3 separate regions of the Homo sapiens genome follow, and regions 1 and 3 are each linked to region 2. Evidence: promoter capture Hi-C in 16 types of primary human blood cells and fetal thymus (Javierre and others, 2016). All regions are on one chromosome and are shown on one strand. Each heading gives the region's core, a stretch centred on a gene start or on the middle of the fragment in contact. The rest is flanking DNA. Distances are from core to core; before and after follow the strand shown. Region 1 overlaps COL1A2 (collagen type I alpha 2 chain). Region 2 holds the start of PON2 (paraoxonase 2). Region 3 overlaps COL1A2 (collagen type I alpha 2 chain).

Region 1 (3,068 bases), core at 559-3,058, 1.0 Mb before region 2:
CCTACTTGCACATAGAAAGGTCTGAACAACTGATCTTACCACATATAATTCTTAGGTTTCTACAGGGCCTGTCTAACCTGACCTTACTCACTTTTTACATAACAGGGTCCACCAGGCCCCCCAGGCAGAGATGGTGAAGATGGTCCCACAGGCCCTCCTGGTCCACCTGGTCCTCCTGGCCCCCCTGGTCTCGGTGGGGTAAGGTGTCTTACGTATTGCTAACTTTTAGCTAACTTCAGTTGAAAGAAGGTTTATTGTGGAATTTATTTTTAGCAGTTAAGGGATAATTCTTCCATTTGAAAATTAGTATATTTTATTTCATTTATTTGGTTTTTTCACTCAAGATTCTGCTTTACCCATTCTCTTTGTGAGCCCTTGTCAATTACAGGACTGGTCTTTGTGTGCACTGAAGTTAGCTGTGGCCATCATTACCATTATTTAATTTGGAGATTTAATATCTTTTATTAGTAAGGCACAAATAAGAGGTGTTGCATTATTAAGGATTTTGATTAGATTGAACTGTGTAAGTGAAATCCCTGATCTTAAGCAATTTTACAAACATCCTACGCTTTTTATTCTCCTTGACTTGAAGTCTGCTGAACCAACATTCAAAGCGGTTTTAGGTTTAATTTGCTTGAAACTAATTTGAGAAAAGTACATTTCCCTTTTTCATTAATATCTTCTTTTAGCTTCATGTCTTTAACAATGGTATGAGTGCCAAATGACCTCACTGCAGGAAGGAAAACATATTTGCTTAATTGGTTAGCACTATGAATCAGAAGCCTGATTCTAATACCCAACTGTATGTCAGTAAAATAAGACCTTTCTCCCCCAAAGATCTTATTATGATTGCTTATCTATGAATTGCATTAAAAAGCAGCTTCTTTAATAGAGCTACCACTATAAGAGAGATCTTTAACAGTAAAGTTATTACTGTGAACTAGTTTTTAGAAGTTTTATCTTCCAAGGGGTATTTTAATTTAATTTTCCTCTAAACTTGAAAACTCTTTATGCCCTTCCTGAAACTCCAGCAAGAAAAAGATCTCTTAGTCATTTTGTGTAGCTCCGGTGGGGAAGGGCAACAGGTGAAAATGTGAAGATGTCCTCTTGAGCTCTGTCTAATTTGTCAGGAGCCCTTAGTAACATTAAAAGTTTAGAAAGCTTCCCTTCCTCAGAGTAGAGGTAAAAGGTGGGAGTGGAGACACCGAGTTAAGGCAGAGGAAGGGCTCAAAAAGTAAAGTAGGGAAGTTCTCCATTTCAAAGAGGTGTCGGCCAAGTTTTTGACGTACAGCTCTCATAACTTTTTAGGAATTTAGTTCAATATAGAATTTTAAACTAATAATTATATCAAAAACATTGCCCTCTTTTAAATAACAACAGAAAAATATTTACAAGTAGAATGAGAAAATGAACTACATGACTAGTAACTAAAAATATTTTATATATATATATAATTTTTTTTTTTTACTTCTCTAGAACTTTGCTGCTCAGTATGATGGAAAAGGAGTTGGACTTGGCCCTGGACCAATGGTATGCTTATCTGTTTATCTTAGCCAAAAAAATTGCTAAATAAATCATTCATTTTATGTCACATTTTACCACGCCATTTATTTAGCTACCTAAGTTAACACTCAATACTTAGATTATATAAAAACAACTCTTTTTGTTTTCAAATTTATGAAAACATAAGTTAAGGAGTTCACTTTTCTTTACAAAAGAAAGATTAATTGATCTTTTATGATTATATGATCTTTTTGATTATATGATCCTCATTAAGATAGATCATATACTTATGTCCAAGAAATAATCTTTGGACATAGTAACCATAACTTGGGCAAATCAATTTAATTTAAAACAGTAATCACTCTGATTAATTTTTTAATATTCTTTAACATTGCTTAGAATTTTAAGCAACACTTAGAGGCATAGAACTATTTATTAAGTTCTCTGAACTTGTTGGAAAGGATCAACAAGTTCTATCTAGTCCAGCTAACTCATTTTAAAATGGGAGAGTTTAAGCCCTTTTCTCAAAGTCATCCAGGTAACTAATGACATAACTAGAACTAGATGCCAGGCAAGATGTCTAATATTTGCTTACATCATGGTTTATGTACCTAGTCCTTGAATAAACCACTCATTTAGTCAACAGATATTAATCAGATGCCTTCAATGGGCCCTAAACTGTATTAGGAACTGGGGAAATTACAAGGAATATGACAGATTCTGATCCTTCCTCAAGGAGTTAACAATATAGGAAATGTTTCTTTTTCTGAATTTTGACCAAAAAAATCCTTTTTTAGTCTATTGATTGTAAATCTATATAGAAGAGAGTATGAGTAAAAATCTAGCATTTATGTCACTCAGTACAAATATTCAGCACCATACCCTATCAGTGGAGCACCGCTTAGAAACATTCCCTATATGATGATGATGATGATGATGACTATTAACAAATGAAGCTTCTAACAAGCATTAGAGAGAAGTTTGAAGGGAAAAATGCTAATACGAGCATGCAAAATGTATACTAGCATATATGAAATAGAGGGGAAAACTGCCAGAAGTCAAAGTGTTAGGTTGATTAAGCACTACAGAATTTAATGTATACACACACACGCAATTTAGTGATTTTAATTAATTGTTTCAAAACAAAGGTATTTATCTGCCCAAAGTCAACAAGGTCTTTAAAATGTAAATTTTACCTGGGCAGTGCACTTAGTGCTCTATCTTCAAAAGAAGATGTTCTGCTGGAGCTAATGGCCCACAGTAAGCTAATATACTCTAAGGGTGAGATAATATTTTCTGTAAATTAAAACTCCCACTTGAGAAATAATGTACCTTTAATTGACGACTTCTAATTCCCTAATTTTTTCTGGTAGTTTAAAATGTTCATATCTGAAATGAAAAAGTAGAGTGTTTCTTTTGGCTTTGTTTATATTGGATTTTTGAAATTAGCTGTTTCAGCTAATGCTGGACATTAGTCAGTTTTAAAGCAGTACCTACATCTCAAGAAGAAGCAAGGGGGCGGAAAGTAAAGAGCTACTAAATGTCATTTTTAAAAAGCCCACTAA
Region 2 (3,162 bases), core at 618-3,117:
CATTATTCCATATCACATTTTAATTATAACGAAAAATCTCTGGTAGGTAGACACCATAGTTTATAAATTACCAACTCAAATTTTGTTTTTTATTTATTTATTTATTTATTTATTCATTTTGTAGAGGTGGGATCTTGCTATGTTGCCCAGGCCTGTCACTAACTCCTGGGCTCAAGCAATCTTCTGGCTTAGGCCTCCAACAGTGCTGGGATTACAGGTGTGAGCTGTAGATTCTGATCCAGAACAGCTGAATCAGAATCTTTGGTGGTGCCACTCAGACACCAGCCCTCCAGGAGATTCTAATGTACAGAGAACCATTGCTCTCCTCCAATCCCCCCTTCCAGGCTTATCTCTATAAAACACAACTAGTTATATTAAGTTCTTGTTGAAAAGCAAAACCCACCAATATTTCCCTTTTGAAGCACTATTGGGCCTATGAAAGTGGGGCCCCATTTTTCAACTTATATTTAATGGCCTCAAAACCTATCCTTCCCACCACCCTACTATTCTCATCTCCTGACTTTATGCTCCCTTCAAATTGGCCCATTTGCTAGTCTTCCAACTTCCCACCTTAGCCCCTTTGCTCCTGCTGCACTATACATTTGGCATGGGCCCCTTCATGCTCATATGTGTTGCACCCACCCTTCAAGGTCAGGTCGAATGTCTCTTCCTCCCTCTAGAACTCCACCCTCAGGGGATGGAATCTTTCCTCTTTAAGCCTATGCGGTTCATTTGTGTCTGTCCTTAGAACATCCTAATTTATACATTTACTGTATTTTAATTCTCTCTTCCCCTGTATCAAACTCCATAAGGGTCGTACTCTACTATAGAAGCCTAAGAGAGAACATTACACATAGCAGGTGCTCAGTCTTTCTGGAACTCTTTTGCATGAGGCCTATAAAATTTTGGTTGAGGCAGGGCAGAACAGCTCACACCTGTAATCCCAGCACTGTGGGGAGGCCTAGGCTGGAGGATTGCTTGAGTGCAAGAGTTAGGGAACAGCCTGGGCAATACAGCAAGACCCCATCTCTACAAAAAATAAAATAAACAAAAAACAAACGTTGAGTTGGTAATTTATAAACGATGATGTCTACCTACCAGAGATTTTCATTAAAACTAAAATGCGAGATGGAATAGTGTCTGCGCTGTCTGGCATTCTGGCTTCAGGCTTCCCTGGTGAATAAATAGGAAGTAAGAACAGTAGCTGAATATTTCAAGTGTCTTTGATCTACAGCTGAAGAGTTTCTCAAACTATGCAGAAATGGGTGGAGAACAACTTTATTAAAGACGGGTCTGGTTTGGGCAACAAGGAGAAACAGCACCAATGACCTGAAATAAATCTTCATAGTTAAGGTTTCAATGCATGAGTAGTCATTTTGTTTTCAATTTAAACCACTAGTTTGGCCCTTGGGTAATTGCAAAGCATTCTCTTGTCAGCCTAAGCAGAAGAGAACTTTGTTAGCAGCAAGGGCTTATAAACTTTCAAGAAAGTGTCGCGATTCACTCCAAACTTTGCTAGTTTTTTCACTAGAAGCGGAGAGTCGGGGTGATGGGGGTTCAACTAGCTGGGGGAGGGACAGCATTCAAAAATTCTCCACCCCCGGCCGCAGGGCCAGGTCCCGCAGGAATCCCTCCCCCAGCCTGCGCCCTCCCCGCACCACGCGGCCACCCCGAGCCTGGGGACCGCCGAGGAGGGGCGCGCGGGAGTCCCACCTACCTGAGTGCCAGAAGCCTCTCGCCCAGGAGCGCCAGCGCGATCCCCAGCAAGCCCACAGCCACCAGCCGCCCCATGGCGCGGGAGCCGGGCGCGCTGCCTCGCTCCGGCCTGGCCAGCAGCTCCGTGGGCGGTGCCATCTTCCCGGCTCGATGGTGCCGGCCGCGCTCCGCCCCGTCCTCCGCCTAGGCCGAGTCCCTGCGTCGGGGCCGCGGAGGCTCCGCCCTGGGCCTGGCCCTGGTCTTTGTCCTCACAAACCTATTTCCCCAGATACCTTCGGGACGGCCCGGACACGCCTTACATTAGGCTCATGATGTGAAACTTTGAATTCCTTCACTTCCTTTTTCAAACAACCCACCCGAAACCCTCTAGCAGCCCGCATACCTTTCTCGTTTCCCTAGTCTTCAAACACATTTCTCACTCGCTATTCCAGTGAGAAACTTACATAGAAAGCAGCTTTTGGGGATGGGGGTCGGTGGCCAAGGGAGGGAAAGTAACGGGATGCGTCGTGTAAATATTTCACGTTGGAATCACTACTTTTTATAACAGGACGTAGTTGCGAATAAATAAACATCCTGTGCCTCGTAATACTTTTTTTTTTTTTTTTTAACAGGGTCTCGCTGTGTTGCCTAGGCTGGAGTACATTGGCACAATCATAGCTCACTGCAGTCTGGACCTCCCGGACTCAAGGGACCCTCCAGCCTCAGCCTCCTGAGTAGCTGGGACCGCAGGCACGTACCGTTACACCTAGCTAAGTGTGTGTAAGTTGTGTGTGTGTCTGTGTGTGTGTGTGTGGAGACCGAGTCTTGCTGTGTTGCCCAGGTTGGTCTCAAACTCCTGGACTCAAGCCATCCTCCTGCCTCAGCCTCCCAAAGTGCTAGAATTACAGGAATGAGCCACCATGCCCAGCCTCTATTAATACTTCCAGACTACAGACTTAAGGACTTAGACACGTCTTTTTCATCCAAACTCAAAGGGAAGAAGTGTAGTTTTTTTCTTTTCCGTTTTTACTCTAACAACCGTAACATGAAGGAATAATTTAAAATACAATTTTAAAAGTAAAATGAAATTTACCCATCAAGATTGATACCATTACAATAAATGAGTACATCTGAAATAAGCTTCTAATGGTTTTCGGTATTTAATTGCCACCCTACAATATGTAGGCAGAAATGGTCACACTTGACAATTTTCAACAAATATCAGTTTTATAAAGAACCAGTAAATAAAAGTGGATGCCAATTTCCCACCTGCCTCTCACCAAAAAAAAAAAAAAAAAAAAAAAGCACAAACACCTCTCTCCCTGTGTGTGTGTGTATCTCTGCTTCAGTCCTAAGGATATTGGATTATACTGGATGGTAGAAAGAGAAGTAAAAAGTTGTCCTTTGAAAGCCCATGAGGCATTACCTTTTTTGTGTCGTGGACCCTTCTGGCAGTGGTGAGCCTGT
Region 3 (2,906 bases), core at 4-2,503, 1.0 Mb before region 2:
GACTTAATATTTTTTAAAAATTTCAGTCCATGCTGAGAATTGATACAAATAACTTGAGCTATTTTAAATCTCTTATGCTTGTTTGTATTAAACAATTACAAGGATCTAGCCACTTTACAGATAGCACAACTAAAGCAGATTACCAGCAGAGGTGAGAGCCTAGCTAAACCATTACATGTCCTGAGTTACCTTTGTAAACGAATTAAGCAGTATTTGTGGTGAAGTGAGTGCCATTTTTTTAAAACGGTAAGTCTTATCCATCCTTCTGTTTCTTTATAGGGCCCACAAGGCATTCGTGGCGATAAGGGAGAGCCCGGTGAAAAGGGGCCCAGAGGTCTTCCTGGCTTAAAGGGACACAATGGATTGCAAGGTCTGCCTGGTATCGCTGTAAGTAAACTGTAGCCATCTCGCACATAAACTGATCCTGAAGGCCTTCAGCTCAGAAGGATTTTCATATTTTCACTGCTATTGTTCCAGTATAGCCTATATAATATCCATTTCCCATTCTCTGGCTAACTCCATCTCACTCTTGGAGGTAATGCTATTTCATACCAACATGAAAGGTGAGGATTAAGGGAGATAGAAATAGACATACAATAAAATCTCCTGGTAACAATGTCCTTCAACCCCACTTAAAATAAACATAATTAGAGGAATGACTAATATTGCACTGCTGAAATAGGTTGTGAAAAAAAAATTGAATATAATAGACATAATGGGAGAAAAGAGCCCCACTTTACATTTTCAATTTTCTCAATCCGGAGTCCATTTAACTAAAGTTTCCCATTCAATTTGGAAAAAAAAAAAAAATATGTCTCTTGACATGTGCTCTGAAAGTGTGATTTTCCTCTTCTGTCTTTAAAGGGTCACCATGGTGATCAAGGTGCTCCTGGCTCCGTGGGTCCTGCTGGTCCTAGGGTAGGTGGACTCAAGAGAAGACAGTTCATCTCTGAAATAGAGGCTAAAGCGAGCAGTGAGCCCCAGGCTGCTGCTCCCTTGGTGGGATTCACCAGCTCACATGTACCTGGTGTCTGTCTTCCTTAGGGCCCTGCTGGTCCTTCTGGCCCTGCTGGAAAAGATGGTCGCACTGGACATCCTGGTACAGTTGGACCTGCTGGCATTCGAGGCCCTCAGGGTCACCAAGGCCCTGCTGTAAGTATGATTTGGGGAAATAATAAAGAAGATCACGGACCTAAGGAATGTTTTCTTCAGACTAAACCAAGACAACTTTGACAACCCATTAAAGTTAGCCCCATTTCAATATATCCTCTAAAATATCTGGAAATTGTCTATATGCAATGGGCTTGTTAAGTCCATCCCTGCAAGTGTGCCTGGGGGCTCGTTATTTATTTATGTGAACTTGATTATTTTTTACTGATGAGAACATGCTTCCGTGTGAAGCTCAACTGAAAATCTGCTGCCATGGATGTCTCTCACTGTAACAAAATATAAAGCCTCTCCTATCTCACTTTCACCTTTGCAGGGCCCCCCTGGTCCCCCTGGCCCTCCTGGACCTCCAGGTGTAAGCGGTGGTGGTTATGACTTTGGTTACGATGGAGACTTCTACAGGGCTGACCAGCCTCGCTCAGCACCTTCTCTCAGACCCAAGGACTATGAAGTTGATGCTACTCTGAAGTCTCTCAACAACCAGATTGAGACCCTTCTTACTCCTGAAGGCTCTAGAAAGAACCCAGCTCGCACATGCCGTGACTTGAGACTCAGCCACCCAGAGTGGAGCAGTGGTAGGTCAAGATGTCCAGACCAGACTGACCCTTCTCACAAGTTGAGCTTTTCAAAATTAGTTTCCATTGACATTTAGAGTGAAAATGCATTTGGGTAAAGATTACATTATGTGAAATCACACCCAATTAATGGAGCGTCATCTTCTCCCAACCAGCACCCAACCTCATTTCCCTTAAAATGTATTTTTGCACTTTTCATAGTAATAAGTACCCTGATTTGATTTTTCATGGAGGAGGGGAGGGAAGGAACTGTCTAATCTTAAAAATAGCCACCCTCTTCCTCTTAAATATGGGGTAGACAATCAAAAATGTTACTTATGAGAGTCAGTATCTTTCATTAGTTATTATTAGAATCTGTGTTCTGCTCAATGAGAAGTTTCATGATCTGAATGTTATTTTCTTAAAAGGTTACTACTGGATTGACCCTAACCAAGGATGCACTATGGATGCTATCAAAGTATACTGTGATTTCTCTACTGGCGAAACCTGTATCCGGGCCCAACCTGAAAACATCCCAGCCAAGAACTGGTATAGGAGCTCCAAGGACAAGAAACACGTCTGGCTAGGAGAAACTATCAATGCTGGCAGCCAGGTGAGGAATCCCACAAACACCTCTCCTTCTGCTAAATAATATTTTGGTAGGACTGTTTGTTAATTATCTGCATTTTAATCTCTGACAAAAATGGGCTTATTAAAAAAAGACCTGTTCCTTTCCTGGGTTCCAATTTTGTCCTAAATTGCACATTAGAAGATGGATTGATTGGACACATCCATGTAATTCAAAGTTATTATTCAAATTTGACTTAATTGGTAATCATTGAAAAAACTGACTAATGTCATTTAGTGTGAAGGAGCACTGGCCAGCTATATGCCACACTCATACATATGCATTTTCAGAATGTGAGCAGCTTTTCTGAATTTTTAATCAAACCTTTTCACCAACTTTACTGAATGCCTACTGGAATTCCATAAATTACAAAATGACAGAAAAAGAAAAATGTCAGAATTTCTACCTCCTCATTCTCTTATTCTAAAGAAGAAGCATATGCAAAAAGGATTAATTGAAACAGATAACTTTTTTAGATGACCTTGCCTCAGTCTAGTAGGTCTTATGTTCATCTAGGTAACTGATACTTCAAAGACAAGTGAATTAAGTTTTCTTTA

The links. The method cuts DNA at HindIII sites, captures the fragments that hold promoters and counts their contacts. A CHiCAGO score of 5 or more calls a contact.
Region 1: a contact is called between a fragment that was not itself captured here and the fragment with the promoter of PON2 in region 2, in 1 of 17 cell types (total B cells). The highest score is 5.2, in total B cells.
Region 3: a contact is called between a fragment that was not itself captured here and the fragment with the promoter of PON2 in region 2, in 1 of 17 cell types (naive B cells). The highest score is 6.3, in naive B cells.

The regions. Positions count from the first base shown.
Region 1 is chr7:94,400,091-94,403,158 of GRCh38, forward strand. COL1A2 (collagen type I alpha 2 chain) reads left to right here. Exons shown (of 52, transcript NM_000089.4): 5 at 106-198; 6 at 1,477-1,530. Among named protein-coding and RNA genes, the nearest start is that of COL1A2, 6.7 kb to the left of the region's middle. The HindIII fragment of the contact is 1,298 bases long and covers 1,160-2,457 here.
Region 2 is chr7:95,433,161-95,436,322 of GRCh38, forward strand. It overlaps PON2 (paraoxonase 2), which reads right to left and starts at 1,868. Exons shown (of 9, transcript NM_000305.3): 1 at 1,718-1,868. The coding sequence starts at 1,791. RefSeq lists a silencer at 1,551-1,980 and an enhancer at 1,655-2,225. The HindIII fragment of the contact is 3,363 bases long and covers 1-2,833 here.
Region 3 is chr7:94,426,144-94,429,049 of GRCh38, forward strand. It overlaps COL1A2 (collagen type I alpha 2 chain), which reads left to right. Exons shown (of 52, transcript NM_000089.4): 46 at 280-387; 47 at 865-918; 48 at 1,045-1,152; 49 at 1,484-1,742; 50 at 2,150-2,334. Among named protein-coding and RNA genes, the nearest start is that of COL1A2, 33 kb to the left of the region's middle. The HindIII fragment of the contact is 3,339 bases long and covers 1-2,906 here.